Linked DNA regions of Homo sapiens: region 1 is linked to region 2. Evidence: promoter capture Hi-C in human tissues and cell types (Jung and others, 2019). All regions are on one chromosome and are shown on one strand. The core of a region is centred on a gene start or on the middle of the fragment in contact, and the rest is flanking DNA. Distances in the headings are between cores, read along the strand shown.

Region 1 (4,463 bases), core at 194-2,693, 290 kb after region 2:
TTGGGTTAATGCTGAAATGAGTTAAGACTTTGGGGGACTGTTGGGAAGGCATGATTGGTTTTGAAATGTGAGGACATGAGATTTGGAGCCACCAGGGGTGGAATGATATGGTTTTGCCATGCCTCTACCCAAATCTTAACTTGAATTGTACCTCTCAGATTTCCCACATGTTGTGGGAGGGACCCAAGGGGAAGTAATTGAATCACGGGGGCTGGTCTTTTCAATGCTATTCTCGTGATAGTGAATAAGTCTCACAAGATCTGATGGATTTATCAGGGGTTTCTACTTTTGCTTCTTCCTCATTTTCTCTTGCTGCTGCCATGTAAGAAGTGGCTTTTGCCCTTTGCCATGATTCTGAGGCTTCCCCAGCCCATGTGGAACTGTAAGTCCAATTAAACCTCTTTTTCTTCCCAGTCTTGGGTATGTCTTTGTAAGCAGAGTGAAAATGGACTAATACAACTGACCAACACACATGACCCAAAAGTCCCAAAAGTCATGCCACTCCCCCAACCACTCCCCGGGTTGGTAGAGACCAAGCAAGAGTGCTCCCCACTTGGTCACAAGTCAGGCTCTTGAGAGCCTGACATAAAAGATATTAAGCAAGATGAGAGGGAATCTTTATGACAGCAAGACAGAGACACAGGAAAAAAAAGAATGTTTCTGAAAGGAAAAAGATCAGACAACATGAAATAGTCATACCAAAAATAAACCAGCGTTTGTGTGTCTAAAATTAGCCTGTATAAATGCTTTTCTTGGCTGGGTGCAGTGGCTCACCCTGTAATTCCAGTACTTTGGGAGGCCAAGGCAGGAGGATTCCTTGAGTCCAGATGTCAGATATATTTGAACAAGAGGGACTCCATCTTGAAGATGGGCTGGGTAAAAAAAAGCTGAGAACTGCTGGGCTCCCAGGAGCTTAGGCATTCTTAGTCACAGGATGAGTTAGGAGGTCAGCACAAGATACAGGTCACAACAACCCCACTGATAAAGCAGGATGTGGTAAAGAAGCCGGCCAAAACCCACCAGAACCAGGATGCTGATGAAAGTGACCTCTGGTAATCCTCACTGCTCATTATGTGATACTTATTATAAGGCATTAGCGTGTTAAAAGACACTCCCACCAGCACCACCACAGTTTACAAATACCATGGCAACATCCAGAAGTTACCCTATATGGTCTGAAAGTGGGGAGGAACCCTCAGTTCCTGGAAATCCAGTCCTCTTTCCCGGAAAACTCATGAATAATTCACCCCTTGTTTAGCATACAATCAAGAAATAACTGTAGGTATACTCGGTTGAGCAGCTCACACCACGGCTGTACCTATGCAGTAGCCATTCTTTTGTTTCTTTTACTTCCCTAATAAACTTGCTTTTACTTTACTCTATGGACTCGCCCTGTATTCTTTCTTGTGGGAGGTCCAGTAACCCTCTCTTGGGGTCTAGATTGGGACCCCTTTCCAGTAACACAGGAGTTTGAGGCCAGCCTCAACAACTGAGACTCCATCTCTACAAAAAAATCAAAAAGTTAGCAGGGAATGGTGGAGTGCACCTATGGTCCCAGCTACACAGGAAGCTGAGGCAGGAGGATCCCTCGAGTCCAGGAGGTTAAGTCTGCAGTGAGCCATGACTGTCCCGCTGCACTCCAGCCTGGGCAACAGAGCTGATTCTAAATAAATAAATAAATTCTTTCTTTCCATTTATCTTAAATTTGGAAAAGGAAAAGGAAACAGTTTTACTGTCTGCTTGATTGGATTGCACAGACAGATGCTGTTTGAAATGTTTCTTCCTTGGTGCGGTAAAGAAATAGCACTTGAACATGAATTTAATTTATTTAGTAAGGCCATTTTTACTTCTTGCAGAAAGGGTACACTCATCAGCAGTTTTGCCATGAGAGTGCATTGAACAAAGGAGACAGGGTCATTTATAACCTGACGCGTCCTCCCTACTGCTGTGTCTGGTTTCCACTGGCTGGAGCGGGACCTCACATTCTGTATTTGTCTCGATTGGCTAGCAACTTAGAACTTTTTAAAAGAGGCAAAGGTAGAGGGGAACAAAGGAAAGAGGAAGTAACTGGTGGAATGCTGAGAAAGGTAAAAACACCTTCAAATAAGGAAGAGGAACAGGCTGTGACCTAATGCTTACTTGGACCAGTATAAGCATGCCAGGGCAGATATTTAGGCTAAATTGTGGGAGCTAAGAACATAAAGAACATTGATTTCTTTATTACGGCTAGCAGATATTTAAGAATGTTAGCACAGGTCTTTGAATAAATTTTGCTTCTAATAGAAGTTACTATTTATTCCTAATTAGATGGGGAGGAAAGTCTTTGAAGAGGAACCTCTACTTTACTTTTTACAGATGCCAAGAATCTAACTACTCCCAAATTCTTCCCCTTCTGCTGGCCTGTCAGGCCCCAGGTTCCTTGGACTCCTGGCTTCAGAAGAGCTAAACAGTTTTGGTGATCCTGCTCACAGCGCCAAATCTGTAGGGGCCAAGAGAAAGCTGCTTCACTCTCTGAAGTTTTGCTGCAAAATCAACTGACAATAGGCAGATTAACAGGGAGATAAGCATACAAAATTTTATTTTAACTCACATAGCATGGGTAATTGTAGGAGAATGATTACTGTGCCACTGGCTTTTTTTTTTTTTTTTTAAGACGGAGTCTCCCTTTGTCGCCAGGCTAGAGTGCAGTGGCGCGATCTCCACTCACTGCAACCTCCGACTCCCTGGTTCAAGTGATTCTCCTGCCTCAGCCTTCTGAGTAGCTGGGACTGCAGGCATGCGCCATTACGCCCAGCTAATTTTTGTATTTTTAGTAGAGACGGGGTTTCACCATGTTGGCCAGGATGGTCTCCATCTCCTGATCTCGTGATCCTTCTGCCTGGACCTCCCAAAGTGCTGGGATTACAGGTGTGAGCCACCGTACCTGGCCCAGTATCTCTTTTGTTACTTGGTTATTTCACTTGGCATAGTGTCCTCAAGATTTATCCCTATTGTCCATATAACAAAATTTTGAATTTTTTTTTTTTGAGACAGAGTCTGGCTCTGTCGCCCAGGCTGGAGTGCAGTGGTGCGATCTCGGCTCACTGCAAGCTCCGCCTCCCGGGTTCACGACATTCTCCTGCCTCAACCTCTGAGTACCTGGGACTACAGGCGCCCGCCACCACGCCCGGCTAATTTTTTGTATTTTTAGTAGAGACGGGGTTTCACCGTGTTAGCCAGGATGGTCTCGATCTCCTGACCTTGTGATCCACCCGCCTTGGGCTCCCAAAGTGCTGGGATTATAGGTGTGAGCCACCGCGCCTGGCCAATTTCGTCTTTTAAAAGCTGAATGAGTATTCAGTTATTTGTGTTTTTCAAATTGTCCTTATCCGTTTTTTCATCGAGGGAGTTTGGTTGCCCCCACTGTATTTTAATGCAAAACAAAAGGAAAATTTCCCAGGTTGAGAGGAGCAGTAAAGCCTGAAGTATCACTCTCTGCCCAGACCTCAGTGGTGGGCTTGCTTTGAGCATTCTTAGGCAGCCCCACTTCCCTTAGGCACTTCCCTTCCCTTTGTTGATTAAAGAAGAAACTGAGGCAAAATTAATATAAGTGGAGTTTATTTGGGCCAAGTTTGAGGACTGTAAGCCGGGAGAGATAGATTCAAGTTGCTCTGAATATATCCTCCAATTAGCAGCAGTTGCAAGTGAGTTTTTAAAGGATGAAAGAGGCAGTTCCTCAGCTGTTTATAAAAAATTTACATTAAAATAACATAAGCTATTGGTTAGCTATACATTTTTCTTTGTATCACAAACGCTAGCAACATGGAGATAATAGGTGATGCAGCTAGTCAGGAACAAAATGCCTTTAAACAACTGCCCCCGCCTTGCCCCCGCCCCCCCATACTGCTGTCTCTCTGAGCCTGATAAATTTTGTATGCCTCCCGGGGAATTGTTTGAACCCGGGAGGCAGGGGCTGCAGAGAGCCTCGATTACATCACTGCGCTCCAGCCTAGGTCACAGAGCAAGACTCTGTCTCAAAATAAATAAATAAATAAATGTTGTATGCCTTACATAACTCAGAATGTTCTCAGCTACTCTCTCTTCTCACCTCCAGGAATGGGAAAGTGAAGATGCACTCCCAGTGGAGGAGGGTTTATTATGGCTCCAAGCACAGTGTCTGCTCTTACTACTCATTAGCAGTCGTGTAGCCTATTCTAAAATTAAAGTGTCTCGAGTGGGACAAATCCTGAAAAGAATGTTTTTTACAAGTAATGTGCTGCTACTGGGGATTCTGGGGTGATCCATCCTGGGACAGTCATCCTCTGCACCCTGTCTGGCCTGGGGCCAAGGAGTGATCTTGAGCAGTCACTGCAGTGGCTAACCCTGGAATCTAAGGCCTGCCCAGAATGCACATCCAGAAGCCCTAGAATGCGGGGGAAAAAGCCGTATTTGCACATCCAGAAGCCCTAGAATGCGGGGGGAAA
Region 2 (4,464 bases), core at 1,890-4,389:
GACGTGACTTGCTCCTTGTTGCCTTCCGCATGATTGTCAGGCTTCCCCAGCCATGTGGAAATATAAGTCCTTTAAATCTCTTTCTCTTATAAATTGTCCAGCCTCAGGTATGTCTTTATCAGCAGCATGAAAACAAACTAATACACATTCCCAAAGCAAAGTCCTAGAATTCCATTTGAAATCTCCTTCAAAAAAGAACAGACTTGAGAAACTTACTACACTCACTCTTGGGAAGAAAAAGGTTAACAAGAATTTTTAACAAATGGAATATGAATAGATTTTTGCCCCCTTGAAATCCACCTCCTTCTTGTCTCTTTGGAAATATTTTTTTTTAATCTTTCAAGCTCTCTGAATAAAACATATTTTAAAGTTAATGAAAAACTGAAACTGAACTAAGTGAATAAATCTTTTCAAGGCAATAAACTCAGGGAGGGGTCATGCTGGCAGAACACAGACATCTCTGGGTCAAGAGTCAGGTCAGGTCACTGCATCACTTTGGAGATCCTCACAGGCCCATTCTCCTCACAGAAATACTCAATGACCACCCTCCCAGGAGACACTGTACTGTGCCCCACTGTGTGCTTGAATTTTTTTTTTTTTTTTGGGACGGAGTCTTGCTCTGTCACCCAGGCTGGAGTGCAGTGGCGTGATCTCAGCTCACTGCAAGCTCTGCCTCCTAGGTTCACGCCATTCTCCTGCCTCAGCCTCCTGAGTAGCTGGGACTACAGGCGCCCGCCACCATGCCCGGCTAATTTTTTGTATTTTTAGTAGAGATGGGGTTTCATCACATTAGCCAGGATGATCTCGATCTCCTGACCTCGTGATCCGCCCGCCTCGGCCTCCCAAAGTGTTGGGATTACAGGCGTGAGCCACCGCACCTGGCCTGTGTGCCTGAATTTCTAAGCCCTTTTCTGCCTAAACTTTAACATGCTTGCAGCTCTTATACCTGGTGTTTTTCCCCATTGCAATACTTTAGAATAAACTCTCTTTTTTTTTTTTTTCTTTTTCAAACTGAGTCTCCCTCTGTCACCCAGGCTGGAGTGCAGTGGCACCATCTCAGCTCACTGCAACCTCCACCTCCTGGCCTCAAGCGATTCTCCTGCCTCAGCCTCCTGAGTAGCTGGGATTACAGGCATGCACCACCAGACTGGGCTAATTTTTGTATTTTTAGTAGAGACAGTGTTTTGCCATACTGGCAAGGCTGGTCTCAAACTCCTGACCTCAAGTGATCTGCCTCCCTTGGCCTCCCAAAATGCTGGGATTACAGGCGTGGGCCACCACGCCCAGCCAACTCTCTTCTTACATAATTCTGATGATGGTGCTTTTCTGGTTCTTGCACCACCTCACTGGGGTGGGTATTCCTTGTCCTTTGAGATAGTTTTTCTCCTTTCCCAAGTCCGAGAAAATCCAGAGCGCAGGAATCATTTCTAGATTTTTCCCTTAATACCAGCATCTGACTGGCTGCCACCAACGTGTCTCCAAGGAATGATGAAAACTGGGGTTGGAGGAAGAAAATCCCAATGCACCAGGGATTTGTTTTTTAAACGAAGAGTATACTAGGAGACGTCTCTCAACTCCAGGGCACCCAGATGCTGCCTGGAGAGGCTCTACTTCCATATTTTAAACTGTCCTCTGTGAGGAGATGACCCAGGAGAAGGTATTCATTAGACACTCCAAGAGATCTGGCTGCTAAACAGAGGACCAAGAAAAGATATAAGGGTGGCTGAGGACATATCACCCTCTAAAGTTTCCAAAAGGGAACTTCACCCCAAAGATACTCTGGTAAGATGTGCACACTCAAAAAAGATAAAATTAGGAGATGCACAAAGACTTTTTTTTTCTACAATTAACTGTCAGGTGATTATTTTCTGCTTTCCACTCATGTGTAATGTTCAGAAATATTTTAAGAGTGAAAACAAATATTTTCAGAACGACTCACTACTCTGAAAAAAATAACACACTTCATCTGTATGAAATGTACAATAAAAGACAAATACTTGATAATGTTGCATTTGAATATAGGAAAAGAATTGGAAATTTAGGGTTTTACTACAAGCCCCAGAAGAGTTAGGCTGTGGGAACAGGGTCGTTGATGTGAGATCCTGTTGCCATACACTTAGAAATGTGGAGTGTTATGTGAAAATAATTAAACACAGGCACTAGGGAGACTGAGGTGGGGGGATCGCTTGAGCCCGAGTCCAAGACTCCATCATACACATGTACATACACACATGAATGAATAAACAACCAACCAAAACGTAACTCATGCTTGTCTTGTAAATTAATAACTTAAAGGGAAACAAAACAGCCTTAAACAACCACGAACCCACCAATTAACCTCTGGTTACATAACCAGGAGATATCTGGCTGCACAGTCTATATGGGGTGACTACATAACTGTACACGATCAATTATTTAATTGGGTTTGCTTCCTCGGGTTCCTTACAAAAAACCCTTTCCTTCCCCAAACCACAAACCACGCTGGTGGCTTCCTAACTCACGACTCTCTGCTCAAATAAACTCCTTAATATTTTAACGGCGCCTCAGTTTTCTTTCTAACAGGAGAAAGGAGGATTTGGAGACTTCACAGACCACAGCTCCTCCCACGCAGGAACCCCGAACCCCAAGTCGGGACTCTCCCCTGAGGACCCTCCCGTCGGCACCGCACGATCCGAGGGAGATGCGGGTCTACAGAGGCAGAGCTGCCCAGAAAGGGTTCCGGGCCTGGCCGAAGCGGCGGGGCAGGGACAAGCCAGGCGGCCCGGGGTCTGGCTGCGGGTCCAGCCCCGCATCCTGTGCCACTAAGGCCGCGAGGCGCCGGCGGAAACTCGGGTCGGCACCGCGGGGAGGTCCGGGTTCGCCACAACCGCTTCCTGGCGGTTCCCTTTTCCCCTTCCCGAGACACCTGGCCGGCACACTCACCATTTCCCAGTCTCCGGTGTCTGGGGTCCTCCCTAAGGACCTTCCGGGACCTGCAGGTCCCAGAGCAACAGAAGCTGCCGCGGGACCACTTGGACCTCCCAGGGATAAGGGGAAGGAGCAGCGGAGACGCACCGAGCTCGCCACATTCGCGCTGCCCAACACAAAAGCCGCGCCAGGTCCCGGAAGCTGCTCCCTCCTTTCGCGGCGCGCTTGAGAGTACAGTCCCCTTCCCAGCGCCCGATTGGACAGGGCCTTAGGCCCCGCCCCTTCAGTCCTGAGTGACGGGAGATGCAATCAGACACGGCGCTGAGTGAGGCCAGGTTCTTTCCCTGCAGTCCTTTTCTAAGGCATGGATTCTGCCCTGTGCTGAGACCTGGCGCCCCCCGGGGGACTTTCCCATTCAAGCTCATACACAGGATTATGTCCATTTATGAGTAATATTTGTGATATTTACAATTGGAAACACTATGATGACAATTATTCTAAAATTTCAGATTTCACAACCTTCCTGGCCTCTGGTCTTTTGAGGAGGCAGCCTGAATTTTTTTTTTTTTCTTGCTTCTAGTGGGATTAGAGGCAGCTTGAATTTTGAAAAGACAATGTCCTCTCAGGTAGCAACGCCCCATAGAAATAAAATGTGAGCCGCGTGTGTTCCAGTAGCAATAGAAAAGAAAACAACACGTGAAATTGATTACAATGATTTATTTAACCAAATATATCCAAAAATATTGTTTCAATATATGATCGATGTTAAGCTCGCGCCTAATTGAAGAGACTACCCAAACAGGTTAAGTGTGAGCAGCAAGGCTAGTTTACTCACTCGGGTGCGAGCGGGCTGAGTCCGAAAAGAGGGTCAGCGGAGGGTCGTGGGATTGGAGTTAGTTTTATAGGTGAGGGGTAAGCAGTGGAAAGTTACAGTCAGGGGCCGTTTATTACCGGCGGGGGAAGAATGTCACAAAGTACATTGTCACAAGAGGGAGGGGTCACAGTGTCACTAGGCTGATTGATCAGTTAGGGTAGTGCACGTCACAACGGTAAAATGCTGCAAGGTTGGCTAATCAGCTAAGACAGAAACTAGCCGTTTTTCTTCCTTTGTGGTTTTCCTGTTGTCCCAGACTTTCTGGCTCCAGGACCTTCTGGATGTACACGTGTGGGTCACAGGGATCACAATGGCTTGACCATGGCGCAGCCTGCTCAGACGGCCTTACAATCGATATATTATTAATGAAAAATCACTCTATATATTAAGCTTCCAGCATGTTTCAATTCAGCCTGCACATTTGGATACACGTGTCTGGTTTTACCACTTTATTTTAAGGTTGTTCGGGAATGTCTGCCTGTTCCTTTCATGTAACTGTTCATTATTTATTGATTACTATTTCTTAATTTCACTTATCTCAGTGAGAGTTGCCAAATAGTGGTTTTCTAATTATTTTCTCTACAGGTATTAGTTCTCATTCTTCTATTAAAAATGGCGTTTTCTCATGAACTCTCTCCATTACATTAAAACCTACCCTATTAGGAAAGGAAGAATAAAAGCTT

What was found. The method cuts DNA at HindIII sites, captures the fragments that hold promoters and counts their contacts. A contact is called where the count stands out against the background at its distance.
Region 1: a fragment that was not itself captured here is called in contact with the fragment with the promoter of ZNF670 in region 2 in 1 of the 25 tissues and cell types used here (bladder).

What each region holds. Positions count from the first base shown.
Region 1 is chr1:247,367,079-247,371,541 of GRCh38, forward strand. The region is part of intron 1 of ZNF496-DT (ZNF496 divergent transcript); the gene reads left to right. Among named protein-coding and RNA genes, the nearest start is that of ZNF496-DT, 37 kb to the left of the region's middle. The HindIII fragment of the contact is 9,484 bases long and covers 1-4,463 here.
Region 2 is chr1:247,075,672-247,080,135 of GRCh38, forward strand. It overlaps ZNF670 (zinc finger protein 670), which reads right to left and starts at 3,140. Exons shown (of 4, transcript NM_033213.5): 1 at 2,923-3,140. The coding sequence starts at 2,925. ZNF670-ZNF695 (ZNF670-ZNF695 readthrough (NMD candidate)) reads right to left here and starts at 3,140. Exons shown (of 7, transcript NR_037894.2): 1 at 2,923-3,140. RefSeq lists silencers at 3,003-3,316, 3,105-3,174. The HindIII fragment of the contact is 11,562 bases long and covers 1-4,464 here.